Regions from separate parts of the Homo sapiens genome. Here all the other regions are linked to region 3. Evidence: promoter capture Hi-C in human tissues and cell types (Jung and others, 2019). All regions are on one chromosome and are shown on one strand. Each heading gives the region's core, a stretch centred on a gene start or on the middle of the fragment in contact. The rest is flanking DNA. Distances are from core to core; before and after follow the strand shown. Region 1 overlaps ARHGEF7 (Rho guanine nucleotide exchange factor 7). Region 2 overlaps LOC124903211 (WAS/WASL-interacting protein family member 1-like). Region 3 holds the start of RAB20 (RAB20, member RAS oncogene family).

Region 1 (4,806 bases), core at 1,908-4,407, 620 kb after region 3:
TCAAGAGTTAGAGGAAGGCAGATTACTAGCAGTCACATTGCACGCACGCTATGTCATTGTACTCGTGCTAGCAAGTTTTGTTAAATGGCGCTTATTTTGAAATACATATGCAGTGGACATGTACTGGGAGTTAGAAATTAAGTGCAGAAGGCAGACAGCTATAGCATTCTATAGCATTTGGATGGGAGTATTGGCACCTTTTTTTTTTTTAAACAAAAATGTTCTCAGTGAAAATGTGGTTATAAGCTTATTTTTTTCTATTTCTCTCAGAAGCTGTCTGGCAAATGTTTTGATTCTTTGGATGTTTTTTGATGGGGTCTACCCTCAGGTCTCACACCTCCGGCATCATCTGTGGCTTCGTCTTTTCTAATCAAACCTCCTTTGAACTTTTCATGTTGTCTGCTGAAAGTTACATTTGCATAGCATCAAATAGTGCATAAACTACATGTACATTGTCATTTTATCAATTATTATAAAGTCCTGTGGATTTTTACCTATAAACCCTCTTCTAATCCATTTCTTCTCTTCCCCATTATGGCCTCTTTATGAGGGAGGGAATTTAATATACTTGCTCTGTCTCTCACCTTCCCCACAGCCCCTCTAAATCCCAATTTTTGCTAATTGTACCGGTTTTATAATTTTCAATTTTTTAGTAGTCACCTTTTAACTGTATTTCTAGTATTTCTTGACTTGTCATCTTAGACTTCTCTCCTGTGTAAAAGATGAGGAGCTCTGTAAGTCTCCACCAGGACTTGTGGGGAAGGGTTGACGGGGGTCACTTGCTTATGGCCGGGTGCGGGTGGGACTGCATTTTTTAACCCTCTCTGTGTGGTTGGGGTAGGATGGTGTTATGGTGTGACTCTGTCCCCACCCAAATCTCACCTTGAATTATAATAATCCCCACCTGTCAAGGGCGGGACCAGGTGGAGATAATTGAATCACGGGTTGGTTTCCCCGCCGTTCTCATGATCGTGAATTAGTTCTCACGAGATCTGATGGTTTTATAAGGGGCTTCCCCTGCTTTGCCTGGCACTCATTCTCTCTCGTTGTCCTGTGAAGAGGTGCCTTTTGCCGTGATTGTAAGTTCCCTGAGGCCTCCCCAGCTATGTGTAACTGTGAGCCAGTTAAACCTCTTTTCTTTATAAATTACCCAGCCTTGGGTATTTCTTCATAGCAGCGTGAGAACGGACTAATACAGATGGTTATTGTTGAAGTTTTTTGACCTACTAGGCTGCCCTGTCCTGGTCCTTTGGCTAGAGAGGATAGGTCTTTCTTGAGGCTTTTCTTCTGTACCTGTTGGTGTTTCTGGGTTGCTGGCTTGTTTAGCACTCAGTTTGGAGCATTTGAGGCAAAAAGAAAACCCAGAGAACCCGCTGGCATGGTTCCCAGCCCTGAAACCCTTAGCCGGTCTGCCTCCTCTCTCACATTCTGAGGCTGACGTTTGTTTTATAGGCAGCATCCAGGGCTTTTAGCTGCATTCAGCTGGAGGGAGGGGGAGATGTGTCTTCTCCATCTTTTTGGGAGTCATAGGTCAGTTCTCTTTGTGCTATGCTGTTATTTCCTATCAGGTGTGGCCTTGATGGGTTCTTCCTGTTTGTGAATAAAAGCCCAGTTGACTGGCATCAGAGCGGAGGGGACTGTGCAGTCCTGTGTGTGGGTTACCGGCCCCGTGGGCTTCACTGTGCGGGTTGTGTGTCTGGGAGCAGGTGGGGAGAACCGGATGGAGGGCTCTAGAAGCAGCTACACGAGCAGAGCTGAGGGAGACACTTTCTCTGCACCTGTTTCCTGTGTCACACTTCAGATGGGGGATAGTCCAGGCTGGTGGTGGAGCTCCCAGGGGATTTCGCTTCTGGGTAGAATTGTCATTTTTTTTTTTCCTCAGAGACTGTTGTGTGGGCCTAGTGGTGCATCAGGTTCCGGTTAGAATCCAGTGCAGGCCGCAGGCTTCTCTTTAATTAGAGAGGGTCACTTCACCTCCGGTTAGAATCCAGTGCAGGCAGCAGCTTCTTTTTAATTAGAGAGGGGTCTGGGTGCTGAGCTTCCCATCAGGAAGAAGGGGCTGTCGTGCTGAAGTCCTGAGGTGGGTCACGTGTCCCTTCCTGTGTTAGAAAACCGTCTTTGGTGCTCCTGGGGCTCCCTTACAAGTGCTGTTCTGAACTGTTAGGTCATTCAGAGTCCATCTGCGTCCTGTCCCCAGGGATCTCCTCAAACCCTGTTTAGACTGCTCATAGCCTTTCCCTTTTTAGCACTACAGCGGGTTCTTTCTCTGTTAATTTTTTGAAGCTTTTTCTTTCTCTCATTTCGGTGGCACCTTGGGAGGGATGGGAGTTAGATAGGTGTTTGCAGTGGGCCATCTTGAGAAACTTCTCAAAACTGGAGTCTTGTAACTGCTTGCATTTTGAAGTTAATGGAATGGGCGCATTGCCTTTATAGCTGTAAATGTTACTGCTTCACTTACTGTTAGCCCAAGCCAGTGTGTTGCATCTGCCCAGATCCTTCTTTGTGGTATGTGCTCACTTTCTGGCGACAGCCAGGCTGTTCTTTGCAGGCATGTGCTCCTAGCAGTCGAAGACAGAAGTTTGGGGGCCTGTGTAGGCTGTATGGGCTGCTGTGTGTGTGTACGTGGTGAGTTGTGTCTGAGACCACCCCTCCTCCCCTGGGTGCTGCCTGATCTGCCTGCATGACCGCTGTGGGACACCACTGTCTCTGGTGTCCTTTCCTGGCTGGCAGTGTGGTGGTGTGGGCAAAGCCAGGCTGGTGGGCTCCGATCTTGGTTCTGCCTTTGTAAGCTTTGTCACACTGTCTTTTGGGAGCTCGTGTGTGTGTGTGTGTGTGTGTGTGTGTGTGTGTGTGTGTGTGTTTTCGTTTTCTGCCTGTAAGATAAACTGGCATGCAGTCTACACTGAGGTACGGGCTGTGTGGGCCAGCACAGCATGCCGTGGTCCTAAGCAGGGAGGTGTCCTTCCTTTCCCCTGCCTGTTGGGGCTGCGCTTCCCTGCCTCGTGTGGAGGTTGCGCCCGGTCTGCAGAAGGCAGAGAGCATCTTGTTGGGAAGAGCCCTGCCTGCCTTCCCGTTGCTGTGCTCCTGCCTCCCTGCTCTGCTCCTCTCACCCCTTCCTGGAAACTACCTAAAATACTTGGTTACTTCTTTTTTGAAGATGTATTCTCTGTCCTAGTGTTTGGGTGTTGATACAGTGGAATCCACAAAATTGAATAAGATTTGATTTTCATTTTAAAGTGAAATAAATCATTTGGGTGCATGTTGGGTGAAAGTGCCGTAATTGATAGCATCCGTCATCAGACTTTAATTTTACCCCTGGGGTGTAGGAGTGGGTGGGATTAAGTACAAAATCTGCAGAAGCCAGGAAGTGAAAACGTACTGCTGGATTTCTGTTTTTCACATGTCCCCAACAATATGGACCATTTGCATTAAACTTAAATAGCACCACTTATTTAAGATTCATTTTTTACTCTTGTTCTGAAATCACAAGTTCCATTTGACAGTGATAGGACAAAATTATATTTTTAAACTTTGCAAACCACACTCCAGAGCTGTGCTAAAAATAACAATTTCTTGTGTCAAGAATAACTTTCTCAAGTTCCTGGAGGAGGCGAGCTGACTGGTGGCAACGCAGACCACTAAAGCTTCAGTGAGCCCAGAAAGTGTGCGCTCAGTCCCACATTGCAGAGGCCTCTCCGTCAGTATTGAGATGGTGGAAAGTGAGGAGAAGCAAAAAGACGACTACTTCTTTCCCCATTTCCCGGTCTGGTCTTTTTGGGGTCTACTACGTAGAGGTGCATCAGCCAGCGCTACCATGGAGGCAGGAGGCATTCTTTTGCTCTCGTGTCAGTACTGACGGGGTTGATTAAGGTTGCTGTGCTTGTTGGTGTGGGTATTGGGAGGGTGGTGTGAAAGCAGTTGGGCTGGAATAGAGCTGGTCAGTGTGTCCTTTTGCGTGCATTTGTGTGGCCCTAGTGCTACAGTGGTGTCCCTTAGCTCTGGGGGACTGTCTGAATTTTTGTGCTCTAAATTATTAATACATGTTTATGTGTGGGTTTGCCAGAATGCTGTGTCCGTTATTGTTGGCTCCTTGGACAGCTCTCCTTGTTCTGCTTCACTGGCTGTGAAATTGGTTCACGTGGTGGGCTCTGGGTCCAGCGAGATGCATCTGAGGTGTTGACCTGGTGGTGTGGGCCTGGGGCTGCCAGTGGTCCTGTTGCCTGATGAGGGAGACCGTTCCTGAAACTGTGGCGCACACTCAGGAGAGTAGGAAAGAGAGCGGAGAAAGCCTTCCGGTTCTGAGCTTGTGGCTCTTGCCATTCCTGACTTGTTTGTTGTGCGAACCAATAATTTCCTTTTTTTGTTTAAGCCAATTTGAGTTGGGTTTACTTGCTTGTAGTGGAAAGGTTCTGACACAGGATCTTTATTATATGAAGTATTTTCATAATGTACATTGTGTTATATATTAGACATATCACACGATCTATTTTGTGATGTAGTTTGCTTTGCTGTTTTTATTCTGTGGAAGATATTCCTGAATTTCTACACTTCCTATGAATTTGGAAGTGGGGTGAGGCAAAGTCACTAATATCGGGGTATCAGTAGGGGAGCCTTTCGAATCCCAAACATTGGAGTGTCCTTCTGTGACCCGTTTCTTTGTCAACTTTTGTCCGCTAGGCAGAGTGGCTGTGACATCTGACATCCAGTGTGAAGGTGTGGTCACTCAGCTGGAAGAGAAAAACCTAGCACTCTGAGAGTGGGTGGATCTGCTGGTGATTTTCAAGCAATGTCTTCCCGTTTTTGGAT
Region 2 (5,068 bases), core at 2,372-4,871, 770 kb before region 3:
TGTGAAATTTTCTTTCTTTTTTTAGTTCTTTGCCCTGTAGGTGTTTGACAGTATTTTGTATTTAGGTGAGCTCAATCTAAAAACTAAGCAGATTAAGTGGAATGCTATATAACTAGTTAGAATAGCTTTAATTTAAAAGGTATTTTAAGAGGGAAAGATTTTTAACTTCACAGGTTTCTGTCAAAGGATATATTTAATCTTTAAAATGAGTGGCACCATTTCATTATATTTCATTTTATTAGATAATGTTGTTCAGTAGCTCATTTGAGAAATTCCATTCCTCTGATGAACGAACTGTGGACAGACTTTTCCTCATCTAGGGTTTATAAGGAAACTTCTTGCACTTTACCAGCAAATTTATTTGCTAATGTTTCAACTGAAATTTCACAAGAGTTTTGTAACATGCTAACTCTGTGTATGGGCAACAGAATGACTTACATGAGAGAATATAACTGCTGTTTGGATCATTTGCTATGTATGGCATTGCAAACATTTAAAGTATCAGGATTTGTTAATGGAATTGATCAGCCCCTTGGAAATTATAAAGGCTTTCTACTTGTGTGTTTATTATTCTTGTTAAAAATATGGATCAGTCTCTTTCCTAAATGTTCATTTTATGAGGGAGGATTTTCTAAAATAAATGATTATTTAATGTGCATATATGATAGAACAAACTACTATAACTTTTTTAAAGTCTTATCAATTGAATTAATACTGTTTAGAAAAATATGTTGTAGTTACAAATGCAGCTAATCCAGTATTCTCAACATTTTTTCATTATAAATATAATTATGTTGAAGAAATACATAAATGCCCAATTAAAAAGTGACTGCGGTTAGGAGTTGAAAATATTTATTAATATGCCTCTGGATTTTGTTCTGTTTGAATTTTGAGAATGTGTTTCTAGATTTAAGAAGCAACACAAGCTTTTTTTCCCAGAAGGCTTCCTATTATTGAAATGGAAATTATACATTAATGACTGTATAACACTAGTAGATATTTTTAAAATGCAAGAGCATCTTCTTAGATCATTACTTTTCCTTGGAATGCTTGGCCCCTGTAATATAATACACCGGTATTTTGCATGATGAAATTGATGTCCTGTGTGTTGCTTCATGTTGCTATCCTAGCTGCCGATTAAAACGTTTTTTTTTTTTCATGCCAGAGCAGAACAAAATTGTCTGCTTCTCAATCTGCACATCATAAGCAGATGACATTAAAAATGTCTGTAAGATGACACAGCTATATTTTCTGGGAGAGGGCGGGAGGATGCTCAGCGAGGGTGGCCCGGAGTGTCCTTGTACAGAGTACAGATGTTATGAAGTGGGGAAGACCAGCCTGTGTTCATTGATTCACCTATTGATTCCAGGAGCAAGCTCACCCTGTTTCATACACTGCTCAGGAGGTAAACAGGAGGAAGGGAGCCAGCCTGGCTTTTTTGCCACATGCTCTGCTGTTTGGTAGAACTGTATTATAGTCAGAAACCTTCCGCTTTTCTGCAGTTGTTTGCATGCTGTTTCCAAGGCTAGCCCTCTGAGTCTGTTTTCTAGAGTTGTTTTGAAATTCAACCTAAAGATAACAGAGGAAATGTGACCCTCTCTTGTGAATGCTGCCACCAACTGGCAATGTTTCTTCCCAAGGCAGATTCAGGGTTCTGGCATGAGTTGTCACAAATACAGTGGTGGTTGCTTTGAGAGAAAGGTGCTTACAACCTGACATAAATTTGCTTTGCATGAAACTTTAAGGAAATTAATAGAAGTAAGATTAAACAAAGAAATTTTGATAGTGAGTGACTAAGAGCAATATCAGATGACAAATGAGGGAAGAGAACATTAATAAGTGCAATACTTTATTTTTTATGGTTGAATTAAGTATCAAGCAAATATGTTCATATTTTCTAATGCAATTTATATCCCAATTTGCATAGTTACTTATACAGTTTAATAGAAATGTATATCACTGCCCACTTAAGAGTTTAGAATACTAGCCAACAAAATAAAAACAAGAATCTAAATTCAGTATTATTTTAGAATGTTTACCTAATCAAAAATAAGTTATAATCAAGATTTGCTTATCTGGCAAGCCAAGTGTTTTTTAATTGTATTTCTCCCCTACATTGACCTTTAAGTCTCACATTCTTTTTAGGATAAGCCAAAGTCATCTTGAAAGATTGAAAAGCAAATTGGAAAAAGTAAGATAGGAAAGAAAACATACTCTGAAAATGACACATAACAAAAATGTATTTTAAAAACATAAATAACAAATGGCAATAAGCATCGAATGTCACTATCTTTTTGATTGCGTAAAATTATTTGAACTTACATACTCATTACTAATTTGGCAATTCTAAATTTACAAATTACACCTTCCTTCTTAACTGCTTTATTCTCAATCTTTAGGCATTGCAAATAGAAGATATTCAAGTTAGTCAAAGTGTTCAGAGCTGTTATTCAATAGAGTGAAGGGATCTGAAAACTTATTTGCTACTGAACATGTCGTTGAGGTACTTTTATGGATGAAAAAAAGTTGATATATAAAATATCAATAATAGTAATAGCTTGTGAGAGTAGTTTGTCAGTATACTCACAAAGATCATGAATTTGACGCTTACTAGTATGAGGGATAAATAAAAAACATTTTATAATATGTAGCTACCATAAAGATACGATTATGACACAACTGAGAATTGAGCGGTCTTTTAATTCTCCTTTTGAGTAATCTTTACCAACCTGTCCTCTGAGCCTCCGTGTATATGCTATGTTTAAGACCAATGATTAGCTATTTATACATGAATTTTCCATTTTTCCTTGTTCAAAACACTTTTGTCACACAAATAATATTAACTAAACTAAAGTGACTTGAGGGAGTATGGATTAATGAGGTTCACAAGAAAATAAATAAAGCAACAACTTGTGAAATTTAGGGCAGATGCCATTTATTGCCATTTCCCGCTGACTGTTAAGTAGAGATTTCAGTTCAGATAAACACATTCTAAGAATTACTACTGAAAGTGTAAACATCAGCCTGCATTTTAGTACTTGCTGGTTCTTTAGTAAAAATTTCGAATGTCAGCCCAAGGTTGTCTTGCTAAAAGAGAAAAAAAATAGGAATTATATATTGAAAACATCTTAAAATTATATTTTATACTACAAAAATTTCCTTTTAGGTAGTAAAAGTGAGAATTTAAAAACATGATTCTCACTGCTACTAAAAGCACACAGAAAATGAAATACATATTTTTGAGACTTGATACTTACCTGTTTTATTTTGATAAACTTGTACCTAGTTTTAAAGTTTCTTCACACTAAAAGTACACCACAATTTCAAAATGGCACCCTTGTCTCTCACAATATAAACTTTAAAGGAAATTAATATCTAGATCATCATTTTGCTTTGTTGTTTTAAATATCATCATGTTTTAGTTACAGAATAATACAAAAGTGGGCTCACCCTTTATCGTGAAGGTGCATTTATGGCATTTTCAATTCAAAATATAAAAATCCGCAAACATTGTTACTAAAAATGTGCTAGATATTTGTTAAGCCTCAAACGTATACTAAGAATTACCCAGAACATAGGTCTTTGCCCCATTAGCTTTCTGTCTAAGTAATAAGGCACTATTTTCCTCAACTATTTCTTTCCTCAAATATTTTTTTCTTGTGTCTTTTGTTACAATATTGCCACACATAATTTGAAGATAAAAATTGCCATATATTATAACCATCATCTGGCTTTTTTAAAAAAACTTTCTTAGTGCTTGATTTTAATGTCCAATGCTGCAATTTTACCTTCTTCTTACTAATGGTGTAGAGTAGAGAAAGTGACTTTTATCTCTGAGCTGAGGAAGTTTCTAAATTTCATTTCACAGAAATTAGTTTTAATGAGTCAAACAGTAATTCTATTTCTTTTATTTTTAGGTTGCTTCCTTTAGAAGGTACCGTTTTGGACTCTTGACGCTGCCTGGGTCCATAGTGTGAGGACCCATCTGTGTAGTAGAGAATAATACTCAATAGATGTAGTGATGTAGTTATGCTGTGTGGTGGTAAATTCATTCTAACCCAGTGAAATGTTGGATTCGGTCAAATTTATCAACGTTTCTTAAGCACCTACTTTGTACTAGACACTGATCCTGTGGACATCAAAATGCAAACCGACCACAACCACTCAGCTGTGTCTGCTGGGAAAGGCCCTCCTCTGTGCGTCTCTCCTGCTCCCACGCCTGTTAGTGGGTCAGTGAAATACGCAAGACCCTGGCTTTGCTTTACTCAAGCCTTTTTTAAGGGTTGTGCTTGCAGCAAACCACACTAAGAGGTGAGGTCGCATTCCAGAACAAAGTGCGGGCCTGCTTATTTCCTGCTACAAAAATGGTGGATTACCCAAGTCCTTTGTGTCAGCCGAAACACAGCCCACTGCAGGCGTGGCATCCAACAGGCCCCGCCCTGTTGCCCCATGCTGCCCGGGAAGCAAGAGGAATAGAGGCAAGTCATGCCACTTTCTGTGCCATGAGTCTCTGACCGGAAAGGCTTACATCCTCTGCCAGCATCCACCTAACGGTGACGGGCTAACATTACTTTCTAAGGGAAAGGGAGTAAAATCTCAAACCCTGACAGTGTGCTTAGGAAGCTCACAAATCAGTGGGAGGTGGAGAACCTACATGAACATAGCCAAATCAAAAGGTCAGTTGTATTTGGTACAGAACTAAATCTAGATACAAGGGACAAAGCATATTATAAAGCTGGCAGTTTATTTCATTGGAGGATAAGAGATTATTCAGTAAATGGGGTTGGCAGAACCAGAAAATATACCTGTAGACACATAAAAATTAGATGCCTGTGTCCTTTCACTAAAATGTCAGGTGAAGCAAAAAATTAAATATTAAAACATGAAACCATAAAACCAAGTAGAAAAGTAAAGAAATATTGATAAACTTGACTTTCTAAAATAGGATTCTGTAGGGGGAATACAGTAAAAACAAAACAAAAACAGTAAAAGCAAAGTTAAAGTAGAAGCTGGAAGGAAATTGCAGCCAGTATCATAGATGAAGTGCTAATGATGCTTATTTAATACT
Region 3 (4,753 bases), core at 2,254-4,753:
GGATGTACCCACCCATGCACAGCAACCACTCCACATCTGTGTGCCCAATTAGACAAGGGCTGGGAGTGGCAAGTGCCCCCTAAAAGGGCATAATGAGACAAGGTGAGTTGGAGTTGGATGAACCAAGGTCTAAATCCCACTTAACTTCTGCTGTCTTCCCACTTTTTTTTTTTTTTTTTTTTGAGACAGAGTCTTACTCTTGTCACCCAGGCTGGAGTGCAATGGCGCAATCTTGGCTCACTGCAACCTCCGCCTCCAGGGTTCAAGCGATTCTCCTGCCACAGCCTCCCAAGTAGCTAGGATTACAGGCGCCAGCCACCACACCCAGCTAATTTTTGTATTTTTAGTAGACACGGGTTCACCACATTAACCAGGCTGGTCTTGAACTCCTGACCTTAGGTGATCTGCCCGCCTCACCCTCCTAAAGTGCTGGGATTACAGGCATGAGCCACCGCGCAGCCCTGTCTTCCCATCTGTTTTTTTTTTTTTTTTTTTTTTTGAGACAGAGTCTCGCTCTGTCACCGGGTTGGAGTGCAGTGGCACAATCTTGGCTCACTGCAACCTCTGCCTCCTGGTTCAAGCGATTCTCCTGCCTCAGCCTCCCGAGTAGCTGGGACTACAGGTGTGCGCCACCACGCCCTGCTAACTTTTGTATGTTTAGTAGAGATGGGGTTTCACCATGTTAGCCAGGATGGTCTTGATCTCTTGACCTCGTGATCCACCCACCTCAGCCTCCCAAAGTGCTGGGATTACAGGCATGAGCCACCACGCCTGGCCCCATCTTTAACATGCAAATAATCACACCTCCCTCTGGAGGACTGTTGTGTCAATGGAATAGGGTAATGTACTTCTGCCCTGCCAACTCTCTTCCCCCTCTTCAGCTCCATCCACTGCCTGCCTTGCAGGCTACAAGCAGCCAGGCATTGGGTGTACACTGACCCCCATGCAATCGTTTTTACTATTAAACATCCTGTCGCCCTCTGCACACCTGCACCCCCACCCCAGCCCACCCTGCCTTGTGTGGCTAAAAGCAACTTTCAAAATGGTTCCTCCTCCGGCTGGTCCTTACCATTCTGCCTCGGTTATGACAATTACAACAAAAACAACTTGAAAAGCAATGTCTGTGGGGTGGAGAGAAAGTTTAGGAGCTCAGCAAAAGAAGGAAAAGAACAGGGTCCCCTAAATGTTAAATTCTGAATTTCCAACAATTATAGAAAAGGTATCTGTTCCTACCTCTCTTTTCCCTTCAAGTACCCGGTCAGGCCACAGGCCACCGAGGAGGCAGGCAAGGGTGCCCTGTGTCCCTGCCAACTCTGGGCAAGGGCCGCCTGAGTGTGTACACAGGAAGTCAGGAATGTGGAGAAGGGGCCTGGCCACTCTCTGTTCTGAGGAGCTCTAGTAATTCACCCTTAGGATCTTTCGAACAAGCAGCAGCAGCCTCGGATGCCAGGAAATGAGCTGCTGCCCCCCAGTAACGCTTCAAGACATCTGGGGCGTCACATCAGCACAACTGCAAAATCTCTGGTGATCAGGATTCCGGCTGCATCACGTCCTTGGTGCTGAAGAAGCAAGAGGCCAGTGGAAACGAAACTGCTGCTTCATTCCCTCCGATGCAGGGGCCGTTCCAGCACTGCAGGGCAGCTCTTGTTCCAGAAACACACCGTGTGTTAAGAGTCTGCCTCCAACGGTGGCCACTACAGGGGTTTCGGTTAGGGTCCCCCAATAACACTCCTGCATTAACCTTGCTACTTGTAAACCAAGGGCAGCAGTAAATCCCAGCCAACCAGCAAAAGCAGCAGAGGGGCAAAGCTTTGTACAAAACCAAATTGGGTTCAATTTGACTTTGTACAGAAGCAAATTGGGTTCGTGAATTGGGTTCGATTTGACTTCTAGAGCGTGTGTTCCATCGTTACCAAATGCTCAGTGTGAGGGAGTCAGCTCAGTAAACCTCATCCTGCAGCCTGAGGCAGAAGACAGAGTTGGAGCAAAGATCAGGGAAATGCACCTCTTTACCTGGGGGACATTGTTTTCACAAGATGATTGCCAATAAATTAGTCACGATGTTAACTGGGATAATAATAAAAAAGCATCAAAGAAGGCAAAAGGGAGGGGGAGAACTGGAAGTACCTCTGTGAGCTTCGTTAATTCAGTTTTAAAGAGAGAATTCATTATCATCTTGTTTATTCAGCATACTGATACACCCAAGATGGCAATTTAAGAATTCTGGACGGGGCCTTTGGGTATATGACTTTTTAAGATGCTAACATAAAAGAAGTCAGAACTTTCAGAGTTTCAGGCTTCTAAAAACTCACACTCATTGAAAATGTGTCACACTATTTCCAGTTTCTTCATTCACTTACAATATCTTATTCTTTTGTAAGGAGAAGGAAATATATTCCATTGCAATGCTACAATCACCAGTGTTATTTTCCAAAGTTAAACAGAAAGCCTGAATTGAGATCCTCTAAGTTGTACTTTTGAAAAGTCACAAATACTACACAATAAAAATAACTCATTACCTATCTTAAAAATGCTTCCACCGGAAGTCACTCCAACCCAAACCCATATGACGTATCTGAGCCAAGATCAAGCAGAAGATTAACTGTAAAAGGCAGATATGCTCCGGGCTAAGAGGTCCGGAGGCTCCAGTTTTATTTCCTCTCTCCTGACTAAACCCAACAGGGGGGAACACTCTGTGCCTCATTTTACTTTTTCTTAGAAAGGGGCTAATAACACCAGCTCTGCTCACCCCTCAAGTGAATCTCAAAGGATATCATGTTCCTACGGGTACGTGAAAACTGAAAATACCTAACAAAGCAGCCACAGAGGAGCGTCTCTGGTTCCCAGGGCGGCAGAGCAGGAACGCGGGGCTCGGGAGCAAAGGCAGCTTAGGTACACAAATGACCAGCGGGTTCTCTGCAACTTGGGTTGTCCCTGAGGTCACTGAGTGGCTGAGAGGCAGCGCTCAGCCCAACCAGCAAGGGAGGACGAGTGGGAAACCCCGAGAAGGAGGCATTTGCTGTCCGAGGCCGGGACCCTGTGCGCGGCCGGGTGCCCTGCTGGAAGCCCCGCGCCCCCCGTCCCCGGCGGAGCCCCAGGGCGGTGTGGCTCATGCGGCGCCGGCCTCACCTGCGGTGTCCCAGATGGAGATGTTGTAGGAGCGCCACTGCTTCAGGTAGAAGGCGCCGCCCACCGTGCTGACCGTGTCCGGGAAGCGCCGCTCCATATACCGCTGCAGCAGCGACGTCTTCCCCACGTTCATGTCCCCCAGGAGCACGATCTTGCTGTCGGGCTTCCTCATCTTCCCGTAAGAACCCCCAGCGCCCCCGCGCCCTCTCCCCGAGGCTGGCCGGCTCGTGCGCCCTGGGCGCAGCTGGAGGAGCGGACCCCGGACTCGCCGGGACCCGGATTCTCGTGAACGCTCCGGGACCTTCGCCTCCGGACGCCCGGGAGCTCAAGAGAGGAAGCGCGTGTGCGCGCCCGGGAAGGAGCTGGGTGCAGAGCACGGAGCCCACGTCGGGGGCCCGGACCGCGGCGGCCTCGCCTCGCCCCGCCCCCGCCCCCGCCCCCGGGCCCTTTCACCGCCGCGGCCCCGCCCTATCCTCCTCCGCCCACCGCCCCCGTCCCGCCCCTGCTGGACCTCGCCGTTTCGCAAGCATCCGAGTTCTCCAGCCGAGGCTCGGGACTGCTGCAGGGTGGAAAATGAAAGTTCTGAGAGCACCTTCCGCCCCTCCGCTTCTGCACAGCCGGGGCTGCGGTGCGAGGAGCTTGGCCGCGGGGCCCGAACGAGGCGAAGGGGCCGGGGCCCTTGGGGAACCCCCTTCTCTCTTCCACTCTCCCTTAGGTAAAACCCGTGTTCCTCTCACGCTCGACCCAGCGCCTTTCCAGCTGCGGTCGATTTGCTTCTCCGCGTGTAAGTACAGCCACCCTCAAGGTCATTGAAAAAGTTTGCTTTAAATGAGCGTCTGCGGAACTCGTCCTGAGGCTCTCACTGTTACAGATTAGAGATGGGGGCGCTTTCTAGTGGAGGATTTTGCTTTTGCTCTTCTACTTTTGCAAGAAGCTTTTTGTCCTGAAAAGTGGACAGTCATCTCCATTTATAGCTTGGAATGAAAATTTGACTATGGAAGTTGCAGTCGCTACTTGAGAAATATTTCCTCCTTCTTTTTTTTTTTTTTTTTTTATTTTTGACACGGAGTTTTGCTGTTGTTGCCCAAGCTGGAGAGCAGTGCGCGATCTCGGCTCACTGCAACCTCCGCCTTCCGGTTTCAAGCGATTCTCCTGCCTCAGCCTCCCGAGTAGGCGGGATTACAGGTATGTGCCACCATGCCCGGCTAATTTTTGTATTTTTAGTAGACACGGGGTTTCACCATGTTGGCCAGGCTGGTCTCGAACTCCTGACCTCGTGATCCACCCGCTTCGGCCTCCCAGGTCCTCCTTCCGTTTTAAAGGATAAACCTTGAAATGCTTTTAAAATATGCAGCGTGTAGAATTTGGTTAGTTGGTTGGTTGGGGTTTTTTAGAGAAAATGAGAGGTAGAATGGACTCTAAGTTAAACCCTGGGGGACAGTGTCACTCTGGCCGCTGGCCTGGCTGGGAAAGGCGATGAGACCCTGAGCAGGTTAAAACCCGTGTCCTGAAGGTGTCCTGTAAAGGGAAATAGGCCCGTTGCCTCCTTCGTAGGTGCCCTGAGACTCCGACAAGGCAGGAATGCCAAGGTATTTCGTACCTGCTCAGCCCTGGCATGTCAGGT

Evidence for each region. The method cuts DNA at HindIII sites, captures the fragments that hold promoters and counts their contacts. A contact is called where the count stands out against the background at its distance.
Region 1: a fragment that was not itself captured here is called in contact with the fragment with the promoter of RAB20 in region 3 in 2 of the 25 tissues and cell types used here (bladder and thymus).
Region 2: a fragment that was not itself captured here is called in contact with the fragment with the promoter of RAB20 in region 3 in 1 of the 25 tissues and cell types used here (dorsolateral prefrontal cortex).

What each region holds. Positions count from the first base shown.
Region 1 is chr13:111,183,146-111,187,951 of GRCh38, forward strand. The region is part of intron 2 of ARHGEF7 (Rho guanine nucleotide exchange factor 7); the gene reads left to right. Among named protein-coding and RNA genes, the nearest start is that of ARHGEF7-AS1, 37 kb to the left of the region's middle. RefSeq lists enhancers at 995-1,134, 1,595-1,724, 1,825-2,084. The HindIII fragment of the contact is 3,787 bases long and covers 1,265-4,806 here.
Region 2 is chr13:109,789,904-109,794,971 of GRCh38, forward strand. It overlaps LOC124903211 (WAS/WASL-interacting protein family member 1-like), which reads left to right. Exons shown (of 2, transcript XM_047430835.1): 2 at 1-1,093. Among named protein-coding and RNA genes, the nearest start is that of IRS2, 5.9 kb to the left of the region's middle. The HindIII fragment of the contact is 6,622 bases long and covers 311-5,068 here.
Region 3 is chr13:110,558,219-110,562,971 of GRCh38, forward strand. It overlaps RAB20 (RAB20, member RAS oncogene family), which reads right to left and starts at 3,504. Exons shown (of 2, transcript NM_017817.3): 1 at 3,130-3,504. The coding sequence starts at 3,301. RefSeq lists an enhancer at 1-222 and silencers at 3,064-3,123, 3,103-3,292, 3,184-3,633. The HindIII fragment of the contact is 6,225 bases long and covers 21-4,753 here.